Regions from separate parts of the Homo sapiens genome. Here region 1 is linked to region 2. The links are contacts of gene promoters, found by promoter capture Hi-C in blood cells and fetal thymus (Javierre and others, 2016). All regions are on one chromosome and are shown on one strand. Each heading gives the region's core, a stretch centred on a gene start or on the middle of the fragment in contact. The rest is flanking DNA. Distances are from core to core; before and after follow the strand shown.

What was found. Contacts are between HindIII fragments. The CHiCAGO score rates a contact against its expected background, and 5 or more counts as called.
Region 1: a contact is called between a fragment that was not itself captured here and the fragment with the promoter of TMEM177 in region 2, in 9 of 17 cell types (total B cells, total CD8 T cells, non-activated CD4 T cells and 6 more). The highest score is 11.4, in total B cells.

Annotation. Positions count from the first base shown.
Region 1 is chr2:120,314,593-120,320,036 of GRCh38, forward strand. LOC105373584 (a long non-coding RNA gene) reads right to left here and starts at 4,749. Exons shown (of 3, transcript XR_923260.3): 1 at 4,480-4,749; 2 at 3,927-4,074; 3 at 2,711-3,046. The HindIII fragment of the contact is 608 bases long and covers 3,828-4,435 here.
Region 2 is chr2:119,675,372-119,680,680 of GRCh38, forward strand. It overlaps TMEM177 (transmembrane protein 177), which reads left to right and starts at 3,830. Exons shown (of 2, transcript NM_030577.3): 1 at 3,830-3,905. RefSeq lists a silencer at 3,677-3,906. The HindIII fragment of the contact is 6,463 bases long and covers 1-5,309 here.

The DNA of each region.
Region 1 (5,444 bases), core at 2,882-5,381, 640 kb after region 2:
CCCCGGCCCTCCTTCCCTCCCCAGCCTCCTCCTTCCCCACCTGTATGCGGTGGGTCCCTGGAAGAGCTCCAAAGCACTTTCTTTCATCCCTCGACTGAGGTTTTATTTTTAATTAGAAAGCCAAGCACACTTTTAACAGCCACAGCCAGACTGAGCAAGCTCTTCTGAAGCAGCGCAAAGGTGGAAGCCTGTGCTGCTGATGTGGCTGGGCTCACGGAAGATGACGGGCTTCCTGCCAGCTTGCACTAGCCTTGGAGGAAACCTTTGTTGTGTAGGAGGCAAATCACCCAGGGCAGTGTTTTCCTAACTTCTTCTGTCCTTAAACAACTGACCACAATCTGTGCCTTCCTCAGGCCCAGGCTTTCCCATCTCTGTCCTGAACACTCTTCACTCCACGGGCTTCAAGGTAATTTTTTCTCCCTGGTGACATCGTCGGTGCCGCCTCCTGCCCCCGGCACACTCGTCCACACACAGAACAGCAGCTTGTTTCTCCATCACTGTGTCATTCCCTTTGAGCCATAATCCTTTCCTTCCTGCCCTCCAGCGGCTTCTGGGATGGATTCTCTCTCGCCCGCTGGCTGAGGGCGGCCTCCCACCCGAAAGCACCATAGGAGCTTGGCTGCCCGCAGGGTGACACCGCAGGTGTCCTCACTCTTCCCGTTGCCTGGCCCCTGGTGATGGTCACCGAATCGTGCTGTCCTTTCTTGTGGTCTGTCAAGTGTGCTCCTTCTGGGTGGCCTCCACTGCCCCTTGGTGCCACTGTCTGGCTTGTACAGCATCACGCCTTGGCCACTGCGACCGTCTTTTCCCTGACCTCTCACACTGATGCTCTGGTCTCTGGTCTCTAGGACGGTCTTTCACTCTAATACCAGTGTGAGCTCGCTGCTGCACAGGCCTGGCCATGTCACTCCTCAGCTGACAATCCCTGGAGGGTGGGGGACACCACCGTGACCACACAGCCATTGACGAGTGGGTGTGAGGCTGGGGGGCTGCCAGCCCCTTCTGCAGAGGGCACCTCCTCTGTGTCCCTGGCTGCCATCCGCAGAACATCATTTTGTCTGTGCTCCCGGCTGTCATCTGCACACGCTGTGGTCCCATCGTGTGCCTGTTGCCCTTTTCTGCGTGTTCAGCACTGTGCCTTTGGCCCTGGCTGCACCCTTCCCCACCCTGCCGCCACAGCACACAGCACACTTCCCCCAACTGTGCCCTTCTGCTTCTCCAGGCAAAGCCAGACACTGGTTCCCACCCCGGCACAGTGCTGAAATGCCCGCAGCAGCACTGTGGCCCTTGTAACATGATGGTCAACTCCAGCTCACTCCCCTCCCTGAGTTCCTGGGCAGCCCATGCCTTTTTGCTCAGTGAATGATAATGGAATGGCGCAGAAGCAAGCACAGAGGCAGGAGCAGGGACAGAAATAGCAGCGATGTGAGTAACAGCCTTTTGCATCCTCACAGTGGCCTTGGCCCTGGCTGGTGCTGTCGTCATTTTAGAGGTAAGGAAACTGAGGCCCTGTGAGGTGGGCTGACTTGTTTGAGTTCCCACAGCTGCTGTGTGGCCCCAAAACCTCTGCTTGGAACATTCTGCAGAAAGTGGAGACAGGGCCTGACTGTGCTGGGGTGGGGGCCTGGCAAGGGCCGGAGGGGTGGCCTGAATGCCAGGGCCCAGGAAACCGGCTGGTGAGGAAGCCTCTGAGAGCTGCTGCTGGCTGAGCAGATGTGCAGGGCTGCGAGTGAGCGCAGAGGAGGGCTGCTCTGGCTGGGAGACAGGGCAGGGTGGCCAGAGCCAGGGAGGGTATCCAGATGGATTTCAGAAGCACACCTGGAGGTTTGGAGGGACTTGGAGGTGACTTAATGTAAGGTGGGGAAGGAGAAAGAGGCCTCGGGACATGGGAAGGAGAAAGAGGCCTCGGGACGTCTGGTGCTTCTGACTTGGGGGACCGGGTGGTGGAGTCCCCCTAACAGACATTGGGAAACAGGAGAGATCAGTCCTGCTGGGGTGGTGTGGGGAAGGGAGGAGCCAGCTGTGAGGGGACCACTGTTTTCCTGATGGAGGGATCCGACAGCAGCCGGAGCTGCAGTTGGTGGCAAGTCCCTGGCATGGTACAGCAAGGGCAGTAGGAAAGCTGCAGAGGGGTGGGGTTTGCCGGGCAGGGGTGGGGTTTGTGGGTCACGCAGGTCCCAAGGAGCCCAAGCTCAAGGTCCGCGCCTGCCTGCTCTCCCCACTCACCCTTGCCCATGGGAGCGCTGTCCTTTTCTCTGAAAAAGCCTAAACGCGTTGGCCTTCCTCTTTAGCGAAGTCTTTCCTGCCTCAGCTGAGTCTGTGAGGGGCAGCCCAGCGTCCCCTCTGTGCCAGCTGTCTTCTCCCTGTTCTTGGCCCACCCTTTCTGGGCACAGGCCTCAGCTCCCTCCCCATTCCTAAGCCCCGCTTTCTGTATCTCCACAGAGGCCTTCCTCGGCCCTCCCAGCCTGATGCAGGGCTGCCTTGGTTCCTACTGCCAAGAACCTGCGCTTTGCCACCAGCTCCTCCCCACTCACCAAGGGAAGCAGGTGGGAAGCACCCTCCTTTCTCCTTCTGTAAACCTGGGTTGGCAAACCTTTTCTGTAAAGACCAGATGGCAAATAATTTTGGTGTCACAGGCCCCACTGTCTCTGTTGCAACAGCTCAAAGTGAGAAAGCAGCCCCAGATGATATGTAAAGGAACAAGTGTGACTGTTTCAATAAAACTTTATTTAGAAAAACAAGGGGTGGGCCAGCTTTGGCCCACAGGTTGTAGTTTAATGGCTCTGCTCTAAACCAGTCCTCATCCTCCTGCTGGATAACAACCAAACTTTCTAGAACCAACAGGGCTGGGGGTTGGAAGCAGCAGGTGGAGGTGGGGTGTTGGGGAAGGAAGTGGGAGGGGAGGCCTCCACAGAGAGATGGAGAGCTGTCTGCCCAGTCCTTCTTCTCTTCTCTGGGAGAACCGGGCACGGTGCCCCCTCCAGGTTTAGTTGCCCATGACGCAGAGCCCCATTAGTTCCACATCAGGCCTCCGCTTGCCTATGAACTGAAAATCAGTTTCTCTGGCTCCATGATTCCTGCCCCCTTCCCCTCATATATATATATATACTAGGGAGGCTGCCTCAGCCTCCCCAGTAGCTGGGATTACAGGTTCCCACCACCACGCCCAGCTAATTTTTGTATTTTTAGTAGAGACGGGGTTTCACCACGTTGGCCAGGCTGGTCTTGAACTCCTGACCTCAGGTGATCCGCGCACCTCAGCCTCCCAAAGTGCTGGGATTACAGGCATGAGCCACCGCGCCTGGCTCCCCTTCCCTTCATATTAGTTAAACAAAGCATGAGACAGGAGGTCCCTCATCCTCTTCCTGCACTGGAAAATTAGTCTTCAGTTACCACAGCGGTCTGGAAAGACTTGAATGAACTCCACAGTTTAGTTGTCAGGTGGGGAGTGTCCCTGTGTGTGGGCGCTGGTGGTTCCAAGGTAACTGTCTCCGGCCCCTGTCCCCAGGTGTGCAGTGGAGGTCAAGGCCTGGAGTCCCTCCTTTCCTGGAACTTTGAGCCCCAAACCTGGTGACCCCACGAGCACCTCGCACTTCTTCACTTTTCCTCGGTTTTACATCACATGTGTGTAGCCCCTGTTCTTTCTTCTCTAGGCTACAACTGTACCCGCTGCCACCAAGCTAGACCCTCGGAGGTGACCACTTCCTCTGGGGGTAAAGGGCCCCTCCCAACCCATCACCAAAAAAACTTCCCCATTTACCCCAAGTCTCTCCCCAGTTTACCCTAACATGCGAGTTGAAGTTTTCCCTCCTGTGCGGTGGAGGTAAAGCTTATTTCCCGCTGGCCCTGTGGAAAATGCAGGGAGCAGGGACCATTCCCGAAATCCCCACTCAGCACCAACCACGGAAGGAGCAGCACACACTTACTTCTCTGTGCAGTTGGAAGATGCAAAATGGAAGCTCAGTGTTCGATGGTTCATCCAAGGAGAGGTACAGGGATGGGATTTGAGTCCAGGTCCGGGTGACCCGGGTCCTCTCAGAGGCCTGTCTTCTGGGGTTCCACAGCCTTGCCCCTCTGGAACAGAGAACAGGATGCAGGGGTGGGGGCAGATAAAGCGTTCTGTGCAAGAGACAGGCTTGACAGGCCTGGGGGCGGTCTGCTGAAAGGGACCCCTGGAGCAGCCCAGGGCCGACTGGAGGCCCTTGGGGATGGGGAGGACGTTCACTACCAGAGGGAGAGGCAAGGTGGGGAGGCCGCAGGCCCCTTCTCGGCCCCTCTGTCTGCTGTATCTCCACCCTCTCTCCCTGTGACCAGGCCTGGAAGGGATGGGCTCTGGGCCAAGCCCTGCTCTTGGCACAAACTCTCCACCCCACCCTGGAGGCGCTTGTTAGTGCTTTGCTTAAAAGTAGGCTGAGAAGTCCGAGCAAAGATGGGAAGCTTTGTTTTCAAATATAATGGGAAGGGTGTGTGGAAACAGACCTGGCAAAACAAAGGCAGATTGATGTTTCTGTTTGTGATACCAGTGGAGAGAGGAGGGCACAAGCAGGTATGTTGGGGGCTATGGAGGCCAGGGCATTTGTTTTTTTAAGAGGGGGAGAGGGGAGTGTCTGCAGGAGCCGTTCAAGCGTCTACACCGGCTCTGCTGTGAGGGTGGCTCCTGCCGCACAGCTGTGGGCCTGCGCTTCGCCTCCTCAGAGCCGGGAGGCCAGGAATGGTCCTGCTCACATCTGTATTCCAGCCCTGGAGACTGGGCGTGGCAGGCAGAAGGTGCTGTATTGGAATGCGTAGGGCAGCAGAGGAGAATGGAACAGGTTCTGAACCATGGCGATGACCTCTTGGTTCTCAGGGGAGTCACCCTGGTGTCTGGCCCTGGCATGTCAGCCCTTTACCTACATTATCACTCCACTGGGGCCCACACAACTCCTCCAGGTGGGCCCTATTTATTATTTTCAATTTATAGACAAAGAAACAGAGCCACAGAAAACTAAGTCGCCCAGAGTCGCAGAGGCAGCACAAGGTGAAGCTGGCTGGTGTCTGTCTGAGCGTTGGGCACTGGGTGCGTGACCACACAGCCCAGGTGGACCCCCACCTCCTCTGGCCTGTGATCTCCTCAGTGCTCAGCAAATGATCATCAAATTTGGTAACACCAGCAGGACCAGAAGCGATTCCTACAGCCTTTATTGATCCCATAATAAAGAGGTGTTCGTGTTTCAGACCAATGTGAGTGCTTCCGAGCAGGTCTGTGGAGTTCAAAGCCGACAGGATGTTTAGCCATTTCCTGCACTTCCCTGCCCTGTCATTTACAGCCTCATTAGAGCCCCTGGCTTGCCAAAACACCTCTGTCTGATGCCGCAGCTCTGACGGAACGCCTCGATTTTCCCTTTGCGAGCTTTTGCTTGGGCTGCAGGAGTAGTGGGCGGTGGATGTTTTTGGTGGAACTTTGT
Region 2 (5,309 bases), core at 2,580-5,079:
TTCTAGAGTTCAGATACCCGGGAACCACCCTGTGGAGAAGTGGCCGTTACCTCCTTTGTGGCCCTACCAGAGGGAAGAGGGGAGGACTCTTTGCTCCCAGGGGTTCATGTGTCTGCTTTAATGATCAGGGAGCTACGGAGGACTGTGACTTTTTCTTATCGGTGTTTTGCCCCCATCACTTGGCACAGGGTAGGAGCTGAATGAATAAGTGTAAGAACACATAAGTGGGAGCATTTCAGATATTCAGAAAGCGATGAAGGAGGAGCTGTTGGAGATGGTTGTACCTGCAAGCACGGGATGCAGATGACCACACACTCTGACTGGGAAGCCCAGCTTCAGGCAAAACACCTGCCTACCCCATGGGTTCTCACTCCTGACTCCTGAAAAATAACTCTCCCAGGTGCTTCAGTTGAACGGTTGATAAATGTTCTATCAGCTCTGCGGTAGGATTGGCCAACCTACATATATATGCATTTTTTAAATTGAGATTAAATGCACATTACTTAAAATTTACCATTTTAACCATTGTAAAGGGTAAAAATTTACGGGTTTTAGTCTATTCACCATGTTGTGCAACCATCACTACTATCTAATACACAAACATTTCATCACTGCAAAAAGAAGCCCCGTACCTGTTAGCAGTCACTCCCATTTACCCCCTCCCTCATCCCTTAGCAACCACTAACCTGCTCTCTGTCTCAGTGGATTTGCCTATTCCGGACATTTTATATAAATGGAATGATACAGTCTTTGTCCTTTTGTGTCTAGCGTCTTTCACTTAGCATAATGTTTGTAAGGTCATCCATGTTGTAGCATGGCTCAGTATTTATTCTTTTTTATGACTAACTAATATTCCGTTGCATGAACTATGCCATAATTTGTTTATCCATTCATCAGTTGATGAACATTTTGATTTCTACATTTTCACTAGTGTAAATAGCATTGCTATGAACATTTAGGTACAAGTATTTGTTTGAGTGCCTGTTTTCAATTATTTTGGGTATATTTCTAGGAGTGGATAGCTGATTCATATGGTAATTCTAAGTTTAACTTTTTAAAAAAATTACTATTTTTTTTTAGAAAACAGGGTCTCACTATGTTCCCCAGGCTGGCCTCGAACTCTTGGCCTCAAGCAATCCACCTCGGCCTTCTAAGTAGCTGGGACTACAGGCACAAGCCACTGAGCCTAGCTTAGCTTAAGGTTAACTTTTTGAGGAAGCTCTAAACTGTTTTCTACAGTGGCTGCACCATTTTACATTCCCACCAGCAATGTATGAGGGTTTCAGTTTCTCCACATCCTCTCCAACATATATTATTTTCTAGGTTTTCTTTTTCCTTATAGAAATCCAGTGGTTGTGAATAATATCTCATTGTGGTGATTTGCATTTCCCTAGCCGCTCTGTGATCAGCCCTAGTGACTGATACTAGTGAGCACATTTTTATATGCTTTTTGGCATATATTTGTATATATTTTTTGAGAAATGTCTACTCAAGTCATTTGCCCATTTATTAATTGGCTTGTTGAGTTGCTAAGAGTTCTTTATATATTCTGGATACTACACCCTTATCAGATCTATGATTTGTAAATATTTTCTCCTATTGTGGATTGTCTTTCCACTTTTCTTGATAGTATTTTTCATGCACAAAAGTTTTTCATTTTGATGGAGTCCAACTGGCCAGCCTACTTTAAAAAATTTTTTTAAACTTTTTATTATGGAAATTTCCAAACACACACAAAAGTAGAGCATGGTATGATGAAGATCCCTGAACCTGTCATGCAGCTTCACAATAACTAACACTTTGTCAATGTTGTTTCATCTGTGCCCCTGTTTTTTTGTTGTTGTTGTTGTTTGGATTTGGTTTCGTTGGAATATTTTGAATCAAATAGTAGACATTGTGTCATTTCACCTGTAAACACTTCAGTATGCATCTCTAGTAAGAATTTTTTGGTTTATATAAACTCCATGTCATCATCCCATCTGATGAAATAAGCAATAATTCATTAATATCATCTAATATTCAAATCCAAATTCAAATTTCTCCAAGATGCCTTTTGTTTGTTTGTTTGTTCCTTTGTTTGTTTGAGACAGAGTCTCACTTAGCCACCCAGGCTGGAGTGCAGTGGCACAATCTCGGCTTACTGCAACCACCATCTCCCAGGTTTTAGCGATTCTCCCGTCTCAGCCTCCTGAATAGCTAGGATTATAGGCGTGTGCCACCATGCCTGGCTAATTTTTGTATTTTAGTAGAGACGGAGTTTCACCATGTTGGCCAGGCTGGTCTTGAACTCCTGACCTCAGGTGATCTGCCCTCCTTGGCCTCCCAAAGTGCCAGGATTACAGGCGTAAGCCACCGCGCCCAGCCCAAGGTGTCTTTTTTACAGTTAGTTTATTTGGTTCAGGATCCCAATAAAAGTCACATATTGCATTTAACTGCAATGACTCTCAAGTCTCTTTTCTTTTGAGTCCCCCTCCTTCCCTGTTTATGCCATTGATTTGTTGGATAAACCACGTCATTTGCCCTGTAGAATGTCCCACATTCTGGCTTTGGCTGAGGTCACATTGCACTATTTACATACAAACAACTGAGCAGCCAAAATTGGGGGGGGGGGCTCAGAAACAGAACAGACTTTAATAATAATAGCTAATGGCTAGGCGGCACAAACCGTGAGGCACAGGTTACATATACACCAACTCATTTTATCACACAGCTAGTAAGGGGTGGAGCCCGGCTTTAACCCTAGGCAGTCTGTTTTCACCCTCTGTAAAGGATTGGGCATGGCTGTGTTCCAAGAAAACTTTATTTACAAAAGCAGGTGGAGAGCTGGATTTGGTGCACAGATTAGATGATCCCTCATCTACCTCACAGAGCAGCTGGAAAGGAGAAATGACAGATGGCACGCTGCTCTGTGGACTGTACAGTGTGAAGCACCTGGGAGGAGCTTGGGGGGCAGCGAACATGGTAATAAACATAAAGCTCAGAGCTCCCCGCCAAGGGTGAGCGCTTCCAGACGGAGAAGTACACGGGCCGGCCAGTCAGATGGGCATGGGTTCTGATGGGGGCCCTGCCATAGGCCGCCTGGTGACCCACGCGGGGCTGCCGTTCCTTCGGGGGTTCAACGGCATGATCAAAGACACCGGGATGTGTGTGTGTGTGTGTGTGTGTGTGTGTGATGATCAAAGACACCGGGGTGGGTGTGTGTGTGTGTGTGTGTCATGATCAAAGACACCAGGGTATGTGTGTGTGTGTGTGTGTGTGTGGCATGATCAAAGACACCGGGGTGTGTGTGTGTGTGTGTGTGGCATGATCAAAGACACCGGGGTGTGTGTGTGTGTGTGTGTGTGTGACGGAGTCTCGCTCTGTCGCCCAGGTTGGAGTGCAGTGGCGTATTCTCGGCTCACTGCAACCTCTGCCTCCCAGGTTCAAGCGATTCTCCTGCCTCAGCCTCCCCAGCAGCTGGGGACTACAGGCGTGCGCCACCACGCCCAGCTAATTTTTGTATTAATCAAAGACGCATTTCAACGCAGAGGAGGAAGTGCTAGCGGACCCACCCCAAGGTGCACAGTTAGAGAAGGAGCCTCTGCGGCGGCCGGAGCCCCCCACGGACATCCCCTTGAGGCCCCCCCAGCCACACCCCCAAGAGTCCCGCCCCCAGACCCGTCGAGCGAGCTCCCCTCCCTGAAATCCTCGCCCCGAGATCTCCGGCCGGCGAGCTCCGCCCCCTGAAGTCCCCATCCCAAGATCCGGGGCCGGCGAGCTCCGCCTCCCGAAGTCCCCGCCCCCAGATCCCCGGCCGGCGTGCTTTGCGGCCGCCCTGCCGCGCGCACATGTAGGCGTTCCGAGCGGCGGCGGAGGTGAGCGCACGGACGAGCGGGAGGGACCCTTCTCCGGCCTGATGCGACCCGGTAACGCGTTCAGACTGCGGAGTAGCCTAGGGGCCCAGAGTGGAAGCGTAGCGAGGACCCCTCTGCGGGGCTCCTGCAGCCCCTCCTCCCCCAGCCACCGGCGGGCTGCATGGTACTGTGTTCTAGGCCCACCCCGCAGCGCGATGGCCCTAGGGACGTTGGACTTTGGTCCAGACCTTTCCTTTCTTAGCCTCACTTTCCGCATTGGGAAAAAAAAAAAGCCCGAATGATAATGATTCTTATAGGAGTTCTTGATTAAGATAGGCCAAGCGGTACCCTGCGTTTTTGTTTGCGGCAACTCATTCGTTGCTCATTAAGCACTTTTCACGGACAGGAATACAGTAAGTTTCAATCAAAGTGAAATAATTGTGAATTTTTACTGACGTATTCACGGATGAAGTGATAGGATGCCCGGGGATGTTTCAAAATAAACCAGTTGGACGGAAGTGTGGTGGAAAGAGAAATCAAACAAGATTGGCCATGAGTTGATGGGATTGAAGTTGATGGATGTACTATTTTGTCTACTTTGGTATATGCTTGTAATTTGGCATAACAAGTTTTCTAAAACAAAAAGTTTGCTGTGGACACCTGACTATGCCTGTGTTAGCTTGCTAGAGCTGCCATGCCGAAGTACCGGAGACTGGGTGGCCCAACCAGCAGAAATTTGTCCTCTGGGAGTTATGGAGGCTGGAAGTTCAAGACCAGGGTGTTAACAGGGTTGGTGTCTTCTGAGACCTCCCTTCTTGGCTTGTAGGTGGTAGCCTTTTCCCTGGATCCTCACATGATCTTCCTGCTGTGCCTGTTTGCATCCTAATCTCTTCTTATAAGTACACCAGTCAAATTGGATTAGGATCCATACTGATGGCCTCATTTTATCTTAATTATCTCCTTAAAGACCCTGTCTCCAAATACAGCCACAGTCTGAGGTACTGGGGGTTAGGACTTAAATATATGAACTGGGGAGGAGGAGGAGACACAGTGCAGCCCATAACACTGTCACTTCACTAGCTTAGGATTTTGGCCATTTAAGTTTTCACAGCTTTGAAATAGGGTTAGCTGTAGTAATTAGGTCATGGGGTTGTGAGGGTTCAATCGGTAAGAGTGCTCAGAACTGAGTCTAGCATATAGTAAGCACTCAATAAATTGAACACGTTTTTCCTTATAAATTAGTAATCATAGGGCTTTACCATGGGATGAGTGGAATGAGGCAGTTGGAGTGCCGTGCCCAGCGATGGGAATAAAAGTCATTACAGCCATTATTATAAGGAATATCTGCTGCTGTGCCAGACACTAAATGTTTTATGTATGTTTATTCATGTGCTCATCACCGCCACCCTAGAGGTGGGCCATTACGACACACCTGTTTGGCACATGGGGAAATTGACGCACAGAGACGGAGCTGGG